Linked DNA regions of Homo sapiens: region 1 is linked to region 2. The links are contacts of gene promoters, found by promoter capture Hi-C in blood cells and fetal thymus (Javierre and others, 2016). All regions are on one chromosome and are shown on one strand. The core of a region is centred on a gene start or on the middle of the fragment in contact, and the rest is flanking DNA. Distances in the headings are between cores, read along the strand shown. Region 1 holds the start of KIZ (kizuna centrosomal protein). Region 2 holds the start of ZNF133 (zinc finger protein 133).

The links. Contacts are between HindIII fragments. The CHiCAGO score rates a contact against its expected background, and 5 or more counts as called.
Region 1: a contact is called between a fragment that was not itself captured here and the fragment with the promoter of ZNF133 in region 2, in 1 of 17 cell types (fetal thymus). The highest score is 7.8, in fetal thymus.

Annotation. Positions count from the first base shown.
Region 1 is chr20:21,119,878-21,127,085 of GRCh38, forward strand. It overlaps KIZ (kizuna centrosomal protein), which reads left to right and starts at 6,205. Exons shown (of 13, transcript NM_018474.6): 1 at 6,205-6,327. The coding sequence starts at 6,239. RefSeq lists enhancers at 5,674-5,773, 6,674-6,723 and a silencer at 5,934-6,513. The HindIII fragment of the contact is 2,396 bases long and covers 2,905-5,300 here.
Region 2 is chr20:18,284,136-18,291,417 of GRCh38, forward strand. It overlaps ZNF133 (zinc finger protein 133), which reads left to right and starts at 4,392. Exons shown (of 7, transcript NM_001352452.2): 1 at 4,392-4,469. RefSeq lists enhancers at 3,965-4,014, 4,094-4,999, 4,105-4,444, 5,005-5,124. The HindIII fragment of the contact is 851 bases long and covers 3,995-4,845 here.

The DNA.
Region 1 (7,208 bases), core at 2,853-5,352, 2.8 Mb after region 2:
GTTTATATGATATGAAATAAAATGAGGAAATCTATGTTTTTATTTTATTTATTGGAATCTGCACCCAATTCTTATTATTTTAAATTAGCTATTACAAATGTCTTTGTTAGCCAGGCATGGTGGCATGTGCCTGTTGTCCCAGCTACTTGGGAGACTGAGGCAGGAGGATCACTTGAGCCCAGGAATTCAAGGCTGCAGTGAGCCATGATCATGCCACTGCACTCCAGCCTGGTGACAGACTGAGACTTTGTCTTAAAATCAAATTAATTTAATTTAAAAAACAAATGCCTTTGAGCAAAGTGCTGTTAGTAACCTCATGTCTTCCTGTATTCATCAGGGTTCTTCAGAGAAACAGAACCAGTAGGACACACACACACGCACACACACACACGTGTGTGTATATATATGTGTGTATGTATATATATATATATATTTATATATATATATATTTATATATATATATTTATATATATATATTTATATATATATATATTTATATATATATATTTATATATATATATTTATATATATATATATTTATATATATATATATTTATATATATATATTTATATATATATATATTTATATATATATATTTATATATATATATATTTATATGGAGAGAGAGAGATTTATTTTTAGGAAGTGGTTCATGAGATTGTGAGGGACTTCATTCTTTTCTCCTAAGGCCTTCAACTGACTGGATGAGGCCCATCCACATTTTGGAGAGCAGTCTACTTTCCTCAAAGCCTACTGCTTCAAATATTAACAACATCTAAAAAAAAAGTCTTCACAGTCATGTCTAGACTGGTGTTTGATAAAGCAACTGACCACCATGGCCTAGCCAAGTTGACACATAAAATAAATTCACAATCACACCTCTCCTCTTGATGACCATCACCTCTATATTAGTCCATTTCACACTGTTATAAAGATACTACCTGAGACTGGGTAATTTATAAACAAAAGATGTTTAATTGCTGCATGGCTGGGGAAGCCTCAGGAAACTTGCAATCATAGCGGAAGGGGAAGCAAGGCATGTCTTACATGGCAGCAGGCGAGAGAGAGAGACAGAGAGAGAGAGACAGAGAGAGAGCAAGCTCTCAGTGGAAACTGGCAGACACTTACCAAACAACCAGGTCTCATAAGAACTTCCTCACTACCACAAGAACAGCAATTACCTCCCACCAGGTCCTTTCCTCGACACAGGGGTATTACAATTCAAGATTTGGGTGGGGACACAGAACAAAACCATATCAACCTCCCAGCAAGGATGGCATCTTACCTTCTATTCTTATCTTTCCACTTCCCAGTGATTTATGTCCTCCCTCTCCCTGTTCCATGTTTATCCATCTTTCTACTTCATCTTTAGATCTGCATGGTTCAACAAAGTGGCTACTAGCTACATGTAGCCTCTTAAATTTTAATTTTAATTATTAAAATAAAATTAAATTTGGCTGGGCCCAGTGGCTCACACCTGTAATCCCAGGACTTTGGGAGGCTGAGGAGGGTGGATCACCTAAGGTCAGGAGTTCGAGACCAGCCTGGTCAACATGGCAAAACCCTGTCTCTACTAAAAATACAAAAATTAGCCAGGTGTGGTAGTGTGTGCCTGTAATCCCAGTTGTTAGAGGGTGCTGAGGCAGGAGAATTGCTTGAACCCAGGAGGCAGAGGTTGCAGTGAGCTGAGATTGCACAACTGCACTCCAGCCTTGGCAACAGAGTGAGACTCCATCTCAAAATAAATAAATAAATAAAAATTAAATTAAAAATTCAATTTCTCAGTTGCACTAGCCATATTCAATTGCCCAATAGCCATGGCTAATGGCTACCAGATTGGATATGTCTGCATAATGACTGCAAAATGAAATCTTGTCCTACTTTCATATCTATCATGGATTGAAATGTGTCCCCTGCACAATACATATGTTGACGTTCTAACTCTCAGTACCTCAAAATGCAGTCTTCTTTGGAAACAGGGTCAATGCAGATGTAATTAGTTAAGATGAGATCATACTGGGGAAGGGTGGGCGTCTAATCCAATATGATTGGTGCCTTCATAAAAAGGCAGAATTTGGAGACACATACACAGGTAGAACACCATGTGAACATGAAAGCAGAGGTCAAGATGATGTGTCTAGAAGCCAAGGAACACCAAAGATAGCCTGCAAACCACCAGCAGCCAGGAGAGAGGCATGCGGCAGATTCTTCCCCACAGCCCTCAGAAAGAACGAGCCATGCAGATATCTTGATCTTCAATTTCTAGCCTCCAGACCTGAAACACAATAAATCATGTTGTTTAAGACACCTAGTTTGTGGAGCTTTCTTACAGCAGCCCTAGCAAATTAATATAATATCCAAGCAGTTATTGACTAAATATACATGATTTAATTAAAAGCAGCATAGTGTGTACATTTTAAAATATAAAATGCTACTGCAGGCCAGACACAGTGGCTCACGCCTGTAATTCCAGCACTTTGGGAGGCCAAGGCAGGTGGATCACCTGAGGTTGGGAGTTCGAGACCAGCCTGACCAACATGGAGAAACCCTGTCTCTACTAAAAATACAAAATTAGCCAGGCGTGGTGGCATATGCCTGTAATCCCAGCTACTCAGGAGGCTGAGGCAGTAGAATCGCTTGAACCAGGGAGGCAGTGGTTGCGGTGAGCTGAGATCATGCTATTGCACTCCAGCCTGGGCAACAAGAGTGAAATTCCGTCTCAAAAAAAAAAAAAATTTCTGCTGCATTGAGAGGCCGAGATGAATCAGAACAGGACTTGTTGGGTTTCCCACTCAATTAGTGTTAGATCATGTCCCCTTTGTCCAATCACGCTTCTACACGACTGTCGATCATGCCTATCCAATAAAGTCCCCATAAAAGACCCAAGGGGACAGGGTTCAGGAAGCTTCTGAGCTGGCTGAACATGTGGAGGAGGTTCCTGGAGGGTGGTGTGCCCGTGGAGGGCATGGAACCTCTACACCCCTTCCCCCAGACCTCACCTTATGAATCTTTTCATCTGTATCTTTTGTGATATTCTTATAATAAACTGGTAAATGTAATGTATATATACATATATATGGAAATATGTTGAAATTAGAATTTCCCAATATTAGAATATATGTACAATTCTAATTTCAATATATTTTCCAGAATCAATTTTGTTTTTGAGCTACAAAAACAACAATTTCATTTGGTTCACCCAAAGATTCATGTGACTTCTGGGCCGAGACACTGGCTTCCCTTGCTGTTTGCTTAATGGGACCACTAGGGATCCATATTTTGAACTAGACTCGTTAATATTACATAGATTTCCAGCTAGGTGACTTTGGCCAAGCCCCTTATCTGCCCTGAACCCTTTTTCCCCTGTAAAACAAGGGGGTGGGGCTAGACTCCCTCTAAGTTCTAGCTAAGACATTCTAGGACTTAGAGGAAGCCTTGATCTAGGCAGACTTGATGACCCTTGGTCCAGTGAGCTAAAAGCAGGGCTGCTTACAGAAATCAGCTCAGCTAAATAAAGAGTTTGAAGAAAAATATTAAAATAGAGGGCTCTGGCAAATTAAATATTCAAAGTGAAGAACTCAGAATTTATTGAAAGCCTGTCACCATTTAAAATGCATAATTTTAGCATAAATACTCTAGAAATATTCCTTTTGTTTGCTATGTGTTATTGTTAATAAAGGAGATCCTACATCTAGATTTGTCATACGTCATTAATGAATCAACCATAGGATGTAAATTATAATTATTTTGAATTATCTATTTACTGTTTAATTACATTTAATTTTAGATTCTCCTAAAATGGCCTAATAAAAATTTTGGGTGCTAAATGACTGCCTCATCTGCTTACTCTGTGCTACTTGCTAAAATTAGTTATATTAATTGTTTGGGGATTCTTTTTCTTAAAAAAAAAAACTAACCCTGGGGGCATGGTCCTAAATAAAATATCCTAAAAATTTAATGCTTTTCTTTTCTTTGCCAGGGTTGTAGTAAAATGTTAGTTACACTAAACTCATTAAAATAAACCTTTGCACATTACCACTGAATCAATTGGATATAATCTGAATAAAAACTAAATAAAAGTCACATCAGTGCTACCCTTGGACCAGGGCAAGAAGGCCTCTGCCCTGGCTTCTGTGTATTAGAGGTTCTGTTCTAGCCCTTCTCTGCCCATGCTGCTCCACGCAAGGCAAGGAGGTCCCAGGGCCAGATGACAGGCCCACCTGGGGTGCTCACACACATACACACACATGCTCTTCTAGAACACGTTCTAAGTACCCAACACCCTTACCTTCCCTGCTCAAAGGGGCCCAAGCTGCTTTCTAAGGCTTTAAAAGGCCTCTTGGCTGGGTCTTTCCTGCAAGGGTGACCATCACTGGCATGCTCACTGCCCGGCCAAGAGGAGGCTGAGGTGGGGATGTAGGCAGAGTTGGGACTTGCTGGCTGGAGAAGAGGAGGAGAAGAGGCAGGGCACACACATCCCTGCTAGTGTATGAGACCCCCTCACAAAGCAAGACTGAGCCTGGGGTGGGAAATGGAGTTGGGGGGAGCTGGAGAAGCAGGCAAACTAAATTCCACCCTGGTTGTCCAGGTTCTTAAGAAGGCATATTGGTCAAAGTGGAGAGGAGAACACGTATTTTACCTAAGTTTGTTATCTTGAATTATAATTCAATATTTAGGCGGATGGTATGAGGGCCTCCATTCACACTCTTGCCCTGGAACTGGCAAATGTGAATGGAAGGCTGAGTAAAATCATAGTTTTGTGTTGTTGGCCTTTGAGTGTTCCATCTCTCTTACAATTTTAGTTTGTCACACCTTGCACCTTGTATGTGTAAGTAAAATTAATGGCATAGGAAAGAAACCAAAAGAAGTGAACAATAAGAGACTAAAGAAACTCTACAGGCCGGGCATGGTGGCTCATGCAAGTAATCCTAACACTTTGGGAGGCCAAGGTGGGTGGATCACCTGAGGTTGGGAGTTCAAGACCAGCCTGGCCAACATGGTGAAACCCCGTCTCTCCTTAAAATATAAAAAATACCAAAAAAAACAAAAATTATCTGGGTGTGGTAGCGCACACCTGTAATCCCAGTTATTCAGGAGGCTGAGGCACGAGAATCTTTTGAACCCGGGAGGCAGAGCTTGCAGTGAGCCGAGATCACGCCACTGCACTCCAGCCTGGGCAACAGAGTGAGACTCTGTCTCAAAAAAAAAAAAAAAAAAAAGGAAAGGAAGGCAGAGAAGCAGGCTAAGGCTTAATTTTTCTGCCCAGTGGGTTTTGAAATATGGTTGGCTTCCTTCAGGAAGCTTTTTCCCGACGTTGGTGATGATAATAAAACCTGATGCTTTCTATGTGCTGGGCCCACTTATAAACACTAACACATATTAACAATCGAATCCTAAACTAATCCTGTGTTAACAGCCTCCCACTTTACATATGAGGAAACCTGGGGTGACTTGCACACGGCTTGGCAGCTGGGACGTGGATAGGGAATGTACACCCAGGCAGTCTGGCTCCCGGGCTCCTGCTAGAGGATCCTACAGGACATTAGGAGCATTGTCCCTTAGAGCTGTCTGCACAAACGTCTGCTTCCCAAGCAACTAGTTATCAACTTTTCCCTCTCGCCAACGATACTGGCACCTGGAACAATCCTTAGATTCAGCACGGATTTTCGAGTAAGGGGTTGGTCCACTGTCGGGGCTGAGCACGGCTGTTTAGCATTTGAGGGTTTGTCTTTTTTTACTTGGTGTTTTGTGTCGCTTTTGAGTGCTGATATAATAGAACAAGCTTAGTACAGTGCCTGGCACTCAACAAATCCTGGCAAGAAAGGAGATCGAGGAAAAGAAGCAAGCGAGAGACGAAAGAAAGGGAGGGAATGCGCCTTGTAACATTAACGTAGCTTGTGCGAATCCTGGAAGGTGAGGGGAAAGGAGACACCGCGTCAAGGGAGAGAGGAGAGGGCACCGAGCGCCCGCCCCTCCGACGTGGTCCGCCCCGGCCTCACGACGCCCCGCCTCTGCCACGCCTCTTCCCCGCCCCATGCAGGTCTTCGTCCCGCCCCCCACAAAGCCGGCTTCCGCCCCGTCCCTCAGCGGCGCCCCGCCCCCACGGCGTCTTGCCCCGCCTCCTGCAGGCGGCCCGGCGCGGTGTTTACCCGCGGTGCATGGTGGGGCGGTCTCCTTCGGCAACCCCGGCCGAACGGCCACCCAGAGGCTGTGCTGAGCTGGCGCAGCGGCAGCAGCATGAGCCGGACCCTCGCATCGGCCGTGCCCCTGTCGAGTCCCGACTACTACGAGAGGCTGGGCCAACTCCAGCACGGGCTGCGGGACAGGTAAGGGCACTGGGGCGGGGGTGGGGAGTCGGCCCGCGCCGGGGGTCTTCCGCGTGCCCTGCCCCATTTTCCTTCCCGCTCCCCCGTCCGAGGTTCCCCGGGGCCCAGGCCCGCGCGCAACGCCCCCCAGGCTCCCAGTGGGGCCTGGAGGACAGTGTTTACTAGAGCCACCCCCTGTATTGGGGGTGGGAGCGGAGAGAGGTGAGAGACCGCCCCCGCCCCGTCAATAGCAGCTAAAGCCTGGTCTACGGTTTGAGGATGCGGCCGCGTCACAGAATTTGCCCAGAAGTGAAGGTGGGAGTTCTTCTGCCTGTCACTCTCCATCAAGCCTTGTGAGTTTCTCTTGTCCCCTTTTACACGCCCCCTCCCCACTCTCTTCAAATTGCCATCCCGCCGTGACAGCTGCACTGCATCAATGATGACAAGTCCTGGAACGCAGACGGTTGTGTGTGTGTGTGTCAAACATGTGCCCCCGTTTAAACTCAGGAGACTTTTAGGGGTAGCGAGGGCTGGCTAGATTTCCAGCGAAGGGATGAAATTTCCAGCTAGAGAAGTCCAGCTTCCAGAGGGTTCATGATGCCTTTGATTAAGATATGAAAGATGGGAACCACTGAAAACAGCTAGATCTAAGAGTGCATATAGAGAGAAAATTATACCGCAATGTACTATGAATAACCACGTAAAAGATAAATTGCTGGACCTCTTATTTAGCTGCTAAGTTAATTGGAGTTGTAACTCTCATTAGTTGACAAGAAAGGAAATACATTTTTGGATCTCTTGATAAACAAAACATTTAATGAGTGTTAAAAGTTACAAAATCATTCTAGTGAACAGGAGAGCTGTGTGCGTGACAGTGCTAAAATGATAACAATAATTACATG
Region 2 (7,282 bases), core at 3,142-5,641:
TAACTGGTATCAGATGATCATTCCCATTATAAATAACCATAACACTGGGGAAAGTATAAAGCAACTATTTTCAGGCCCTGGACTATAGGTTGCACAAAATTGTGATCCCTGAGAGATGGGAAATTCAGAAAATGAGTTCTACGTTTGCCCTGGCTAACTGCTTGGGGACAATTTCCTGACCATGATATGGGATGGTGGGGGAAAGACACACTAGTCTCACTGAGATGAGGAGGCAAAAAAGACTTTAGGGATGGTGAAGCAGATGACACTGGTAGGGTAGGTCTCAGAAAGGAGGCAGCTGTGCAAAGAGGGGAAAGCCCACCTCAGCTGAAGTTGAGCTTTGCTTGTGCAGGGTAAATATGCAATGATTACCAGAAAACAGCTGCTTGAGAGAAGAATGGAAATACTAGAAGTTTAGCAGGGCTGGCGAGTGTAGGCATTCCAGCCCAATCAGAATAAACAAACCTCATTAACACCTCAATCATTCAGCTGAGAAACCAGAGAGGCCATGCCATAAAATAAGGACCACATCTTATAGTAAGGTCTTCTCAAGATATGCTCTAACTGGAACTAAATTAAGGACGTAAAAATATCTGCATGGGTTAAAGAACTTGGAGTTTGAGTCCTGCAAGTTAGAGGAGCCTGGTAAACACTTTGACCTTTCAAAGATCTATCCTAACAAAGAATAAAATGAAGCCTGCACAAGTTCAAAACATTCATCCAGTAATTAAACTGCCTACAGGTAAAAAAAGCACTTTCAGACTAACGTAAGAGAATTTAGAATCATGCCACAAAAAATGTCCTGCATAAAAAAACTTTAAAATTACTAGACATGCAAAAAAACAGGAAGTGTGACCCACTGTTAAGAAAAAAAGGCAGTCACAGAAATAGATCCTGAGATGGTCCAGAGGTTTCAGCACACAGACTTTACAGAAACTAGCATAAACATATTAAAGAAAAATACACACATCACAAAGAAACAAATGGGGGTGGAAATCTCAGTGGAAATTATTTTAAAAAGAAACAAGTGGGAATTCTAGAACTAAAAATGTAACAAATAAAAATTTAAAATTTGCTAGATGGGCTTAAAAGATTGAAGATGGCAAAAGGAAGTTTCAGTGAACCTGAAGACAGGTCAATAGAAACCAATCTGGCAAACAGAAAAACATACTGAGGAAAATTGGATAGAGCTTCGGGAACAATATCAAATGGTCTAACATACGTGTAAGTGGAGACTCAAAAGGAGAAGAAATTGAGAAAGAATTATCCAAAATGAGAAGAAACTGAGAATTATTTAAAGATAATGATGGCTAAAGTTCCTAAATTTAATGAAAAACAATAGCTGACAGGTTAGAGAATCTCAATAAACCTCAAACTGGATTAATACCAAACAACAACAAATGATTTAGACACATGAATGTCAAACTGCTGAAAACCAAAGACAAAGCAAATTCTCAAGAGCGGTGTGTGTGCGTGCACACACACACACCCCTATCTACCCATTCTCAACTATACCAAAACAAACAAACAAACAAAAAAACCTGACCTTCCCTGGGGAAATATGAATAACCTGTCTTTATTTTCAAGTTCAAAAGGCAAAAGTCAGCTATATCTGGCAGCTGCTCCATGCACTGCCTTACCTGCATGAGGGATTTAAGCTGCTCAGTGGGTCAGATTTTAAGCTGGAAGAGAAGCCATTATCACCCAGTGAGACCAGATTGCTATAGTTTTCCAGCACCATCTCCCAGTATAGGTCCTTCTGAGCAGGACTCCACAGGCTTCATACCTCTTAGATGAAATCCACAGCCACAACCTTGAATATTATGAAAAACCATTATGCCAAACACAGCTCCGCTCACTCTGTTGACATGTGTGCCCATGTTGAAAACAAGGGAGCAAGAGGGCTGCCTTGGGGAAGATAGGTAAAATATCTAGGTCCTGCTTTTGACTGTAACTCTGGAGCTTGGATTCCAAGACCATTAACCCTATTCACTATCCAACCAGCATCACTTGCTGTGATCCTAGTCTGGCTATTATGGGCTTTACAAATGAAAACACAATTCCTAACCTTGAGGTGTTTTACATTTAATAGATAACATATTAAAAGAAAATATAAGTATAGAATCATGGTCTTTCTGAGATTTAGGAATTTGGAGATTCTTTAATCTAGCTGCTTATATTCAATTTAAAGATCTGAGCCCCTGATTGGTTTAAAGCCTTGTTACCCAGTCTGGTCTGAAGACAAGCAGTACCAGCATCATCTGGAAGCTTATTAGAAATGCTGATGCTTGGGCTCCATCAGGCATTCTGATTCAGAATTTGCTGCTTACAAGATCCCAAGTGACATGTATGCATGTTTTTGAGAGCGCTGGGTTAAATGATCTACCGAGGTATATGGTTCAGAAATAGCAACAACCAATAACTAAACTTCTGATTTTCCAAAACAAGATCTCTCTTCTACATTATTACACAACATCTTCCCTTCTCAAGAGGAAAACAGCTCTGTTATGAATAATGGATGCCCAGGCTCCACTGCAAACTCATTTCTTGGGGTGGTGTTCAGGCATTGTATTTTTAAAAGCTTCCAAGTACAGCCAGGGTTAGAAGAGTCTCAAGTAGTCACTATAGTATAGTGATCAGGGAAGGTTTCACGAAAGAGAGCTAGGTATTTGGTCTTGAAGGACCAGATGGATTCAGAGGAGCTAAGGGTATTCCAGATGAGGTATGGCATGGAGTGGGTGGGAAATGCCAGGAGAAAAAGAGGACATGGCAGCAAAGAGTGTTTTAGAAAGCAGGCAATCCAGATTTCTAGATGGAAACTCCTAATTATTAAATGCTGAGGTCTGTCAAAGATGAAACTGGAGGCTGGACACACCAAATATCTGTATGACAGAGCTGTACATCTAGACGGTGGACATCTAGCATCCCTGTCTATATGCAAGTCAGCTGGCTGCAAGACCACGTGCTGCTGAAAATCTCACTGTGGTCATGACAGTCCACCCAGTGGCTCAGACCCTGAGATTCTGTTCACACTTCCTACACTCTTCCTTACTCGTCTGTGTTCTTCCAACTCCTCATCTTGCCTAATTCCTCAGGCAGCACCTCATCCTGTAAGTCTTCATTTCCAGGCTTAAGAGATGTCAGCCATCTGTGTCTTTATTGTACAGCCAGCACAAGTGAACACTTGAACACAGGCATCCCTGCATTGTTGTTCTGAACCTTTATGTGTATTAACAACTAATTTCTTGGTGATGACTGACTCATGAGGCAGAGAATGATGTTGAGGGATGAATCCAATTGACACTGGACATGTCTCCGGAGCCAGGACTGAACTGAATTCACAATAAATAATGTAGCCTCGGGGTACCAGAAGGGAATGGATTCACCCTCTGAGAGCTACAAAAGAATTTTAGGAAATTCTCATCTCCCTGGCCCTTCAGACAGTGGTCATTTTCTTGGTCTTCCAAGAGAATGACAAAGTTTCAGAAAGCCTATCTGAGGAAGGTGAAGGGCAGTGAGAGGGTGCACGGGTGGAAAAGCCCTCTCAAGAGTGACGTGGGCCTTCCCCTCGAGCTCCCCAGATGGGGCGTCCCAGATGGCACCAGCGCAATCTTGTTCTCAACCAGGATCCCGGACAAAGACCTAGAGATCCAAGCCGACGGCAGGCCAAGCTCTGGCCCGAGACTGAGGCTTCTGCTTCTCAGGAGATGAGAGTTTAACAATAACTTCGTGGATTTCAAAAAGAAGAAAAAGGTCTCAGGGCACCGGAAAAGGTGTATTCGGGTTGAGGGCGTGGGCTCAGAATCGGGTCTACCTCGTACGGGATGTGAGACTTCAGGCAGACTGCTCGGCCTTTTCAAGGCTTTAAATGGAGCTAAAGGGTATACGACATGACGTTCGCCCGGTGTTTAGGAATATGGGGCGTGACTTTCCAAGCAGGCGGCTGGAGCCAGGGAGACCACAGGCCGCTGCAACACAAACCAGCACCTGAACAAGCTTGGTCAGCCAGCGGTACACCTCCGCCAACCCCAGAAGCCGAACAGATGCGCCCCGAAACGTCATTTCCGCGCGCCAAGGGGCGGGGCCGGTACCGGGTGCGGAAGTCGCTCCAGGGGTCACTGGGAAGTGTAGTTTTCGAGACAGAGGCGCTCAGAAGGAGGGTCACAGTAGGGCCAGGCACTCTTCTCGGGAGCTCCTACGTGTTTTATGCACGTGGTTAAGAAAAAAGAGGGAGAATTCAGGTGCCACAGTGGCCATTCTCCGGTGACCGGAGCGTGTTACTCAGAAACGGATCCGTCAGAGGCCAATGGGAGCTGCCGGCCTTCAGGGCGCGCCTGGTGGCGCCGAGCATCCTGGGAGGTGTGGTCCGGGCGCTGTGCCGAGGATTCGGGGTAGTGTAGTCCTGGCGCCCCGCTGGAGGAGCTCCCCAGCTGGTGGCTGGAGCGACCCCTTGTTCTTTGGTGGCGCTGGTGAGTGAGGCTCCCGCGGGACCCTTGCCGCAGCCGTACCCTTTTCTGCGCGAAAAGGAAGGTCCCGAAAGGCTGGACTATGGGCTGAATTTGGGGACCGTGCGGGTGGCGCGGGGGTGGTGATTGTGGTGGGAACGCGCTGGCGTGGCGCAGGCCGTCCTCTCCCAGATGTCTTATTTTGGGGGTGTGGGCGTGCATCTCCAGGGGAGTTGGGTGAAGCCCATCCGTGAAACTGGATGGTGATGAGTGGGGGATCGGGCTCTCTCTCCTAGGGTTCTTGTGGGTGGGGACAGGTTCGGCTTTGGCTGAAGTCGGGTATTGGGAAAGGGAGTCGCTGATGCCATAAGTCCCCGGTTTTGGGGGAGTTGAATAAATAAGCTTTTTGGGGGAATGGTATTTCCCAGGTGGTGGAATGGGAACCATCCCTGGGGCCATGTGTCCCCGAGGCATTGGTCGGTTGAGGGCTAGTCTCTTGGGGCCACACTATTCTTCGGCTTTGCTGGAGTGGAATGAGGAGCGGTCTGGCTTGACCAAACAAGCCAAGGTTAGACTGGATCTGGGGTGGCCATTTTGCCGCGATCTTAGGGTTTCACTTTGGTTGGTCACCCCCGGGTTCGGGCGTTGGAGGAGGAAGTCTGGCTGGGACGCACAGGACAGGTTTTTTCCAAAGGTCCCAGGGACCGTCATTGATCGCAAGAATTACGGATTCCCAGGCCCCTGGTGTGGCCAGGCTTTGGGATTTTACATTCCATTTAAGTTTTTATTGCGGAGAAATTTCAAACAGCCAGAAGTAGATAGAACTCTATAGACCAGATCTCCATCACCCAGATTCAACACTTAAAACCTTATGACCAATCTTGATTCATCTCAGAATGGACACAGAGAATCCTTGCAATCCAGAGTTCACCGTCACTGCCCTTACTGTGTAAGAGCACGGTCTCCACAGCCACATTTCCTCTAGGCTCTGTCACTTTATAGCTGTGTCACCTTGGGCAAGATGCTGACTTCACTGTACCTCAGTTTCCTCGATTTTATCCTAAAGAGGATAATAGCATCTATCGTATTGGGTTGTTGAAAGGATAGAATGAGGTGAAACTCCTACAGTGGCTGTAACAGTCTCTGGTGTATACTAAGTGTTCAGTGAATATTACCTTTCATTAATAACAGGCACAGAGAAGGTCGCTTCATGCTCAGCGTCAACAGCATATCAGGGCAGGTCGTGCTTTCAACCTGTACCCCAGCTGTGTTCCCAGGAAGCTGCCCGCAGTTCTTTTCTCCTTTTCTTCTGTGGCAGGTTCATTCCTGATGCTGTTAAGGAATAGGAGGTACTGCCCTGCTGGAGAGGATTTCCCTTGATTTTCTTGAACGCTTTTTGTTCTTGTTCTGCCTCCCTGTGGCTCCTGTCTGCCCAGAGAGGACTGCCTGCTGGGGAAAGGGGGTACTCCTGAGCTCCTGACAGCCCAGCTTCAGGTGGGTGCCACTTACCTTTTGCATTTCGAACCATGAGTGGGTTTCTTTTGCTCAGCTTTGACGTCTGTGTTCTACAATGTCCCATCCAGGGATCAGGGCCCCAGCTGGTTCCTTCAGGAAACTAGGCTTGTTTTAAGAGTGATCATTTTCACAGGGAATATTTTTCAGAGCTGATGCTCTCATTCATTACACCTATATTCTTCCCCTACATTCCTTCTTTCAGTATTTGTTCAGACTGCTCATTCCCAGGGCTTGTCAGGTCCTGTGAAGTTGTTAACATTCTGTTCTTCTGTCTTCCAATACTCTCACTTACTCTTTTCCCTGCTAGAGTTTTGGCAGCAAATCCCAGTTATATCATTTCACCTGGGAACACTTCAGGAGGCATCTCTAACACATAAGGACTTCTTTTTTTAACATAACCACAATTTCATTGTTATACAGTTACATTGTTACAATTATATTTTGTTATACCCAACAAAATTAATAACTTATTAATATCATTTAATATCTAGCCCATATTGTTTTCCCCCATTGTTAAAAAAAAAATCTTTTTTTTCCACCAGTCAGAACAGCCCTGGTCAGAGGCAGGAGAGGGAAAAGTATCTGGAAACAGCATCCCAGTTTTCCCTATCTCTGCCTCATTTCTCCTCCTATTTCTTCTGATCTTGCTGATCTGTGTTGACAGCCTTATAACTTGATATAAGCTGGACCTCTGAGTTTTCCTTGCATCCTTGTTTCCAAACTTACTTCCCATTAGAAGTTGTGTCCTCCTGGCCGGGCACAGTGGCTCACACCTGTAATCAGCACTTTGGGGGGCCAGAGCGGGCAGATCACCTGAGGTCAGGAGTTCGAGACCAGCCTGGCCAACATGGTGAAACCCCATCTCTACTAAAAATACAAAAATTAGCCAGGCGTGGTGGCACACACCAATAATCCCAGCTATTCAGGAGGCTGAGGCAGGAGAATCTGTCGCCTGGGCAACAGAGCAAGACTCCACCTCAAAACAAAACAAAAGTTGTATCCTCCTATTCCACCTGTGCATTCTTCTCGATTCCTTTTCTTTCCCTTTGTCTCCATTTCTGCACTGCCCTAGCTTCCTGTCTCTTCTTCACCTTCTTGCCTTGTCTTTCCTCCCATTTAGAGCTGAACTCCTTGAAAGAATTATCTATGTTTGTTGTCTGCGTTGCTATCCTTCTGTTATGTTTCGAATATTTTAGTAAGGCTTTTTCAAGTGACACCAAAAAATATTCTTGTCAGGGTTACCAATGGTCTCCTTGACTAAAGGCCACAATCAGTTCTCAGCAACATTTGATGTAATTGTTTACATCCTCCTTCTTAATATA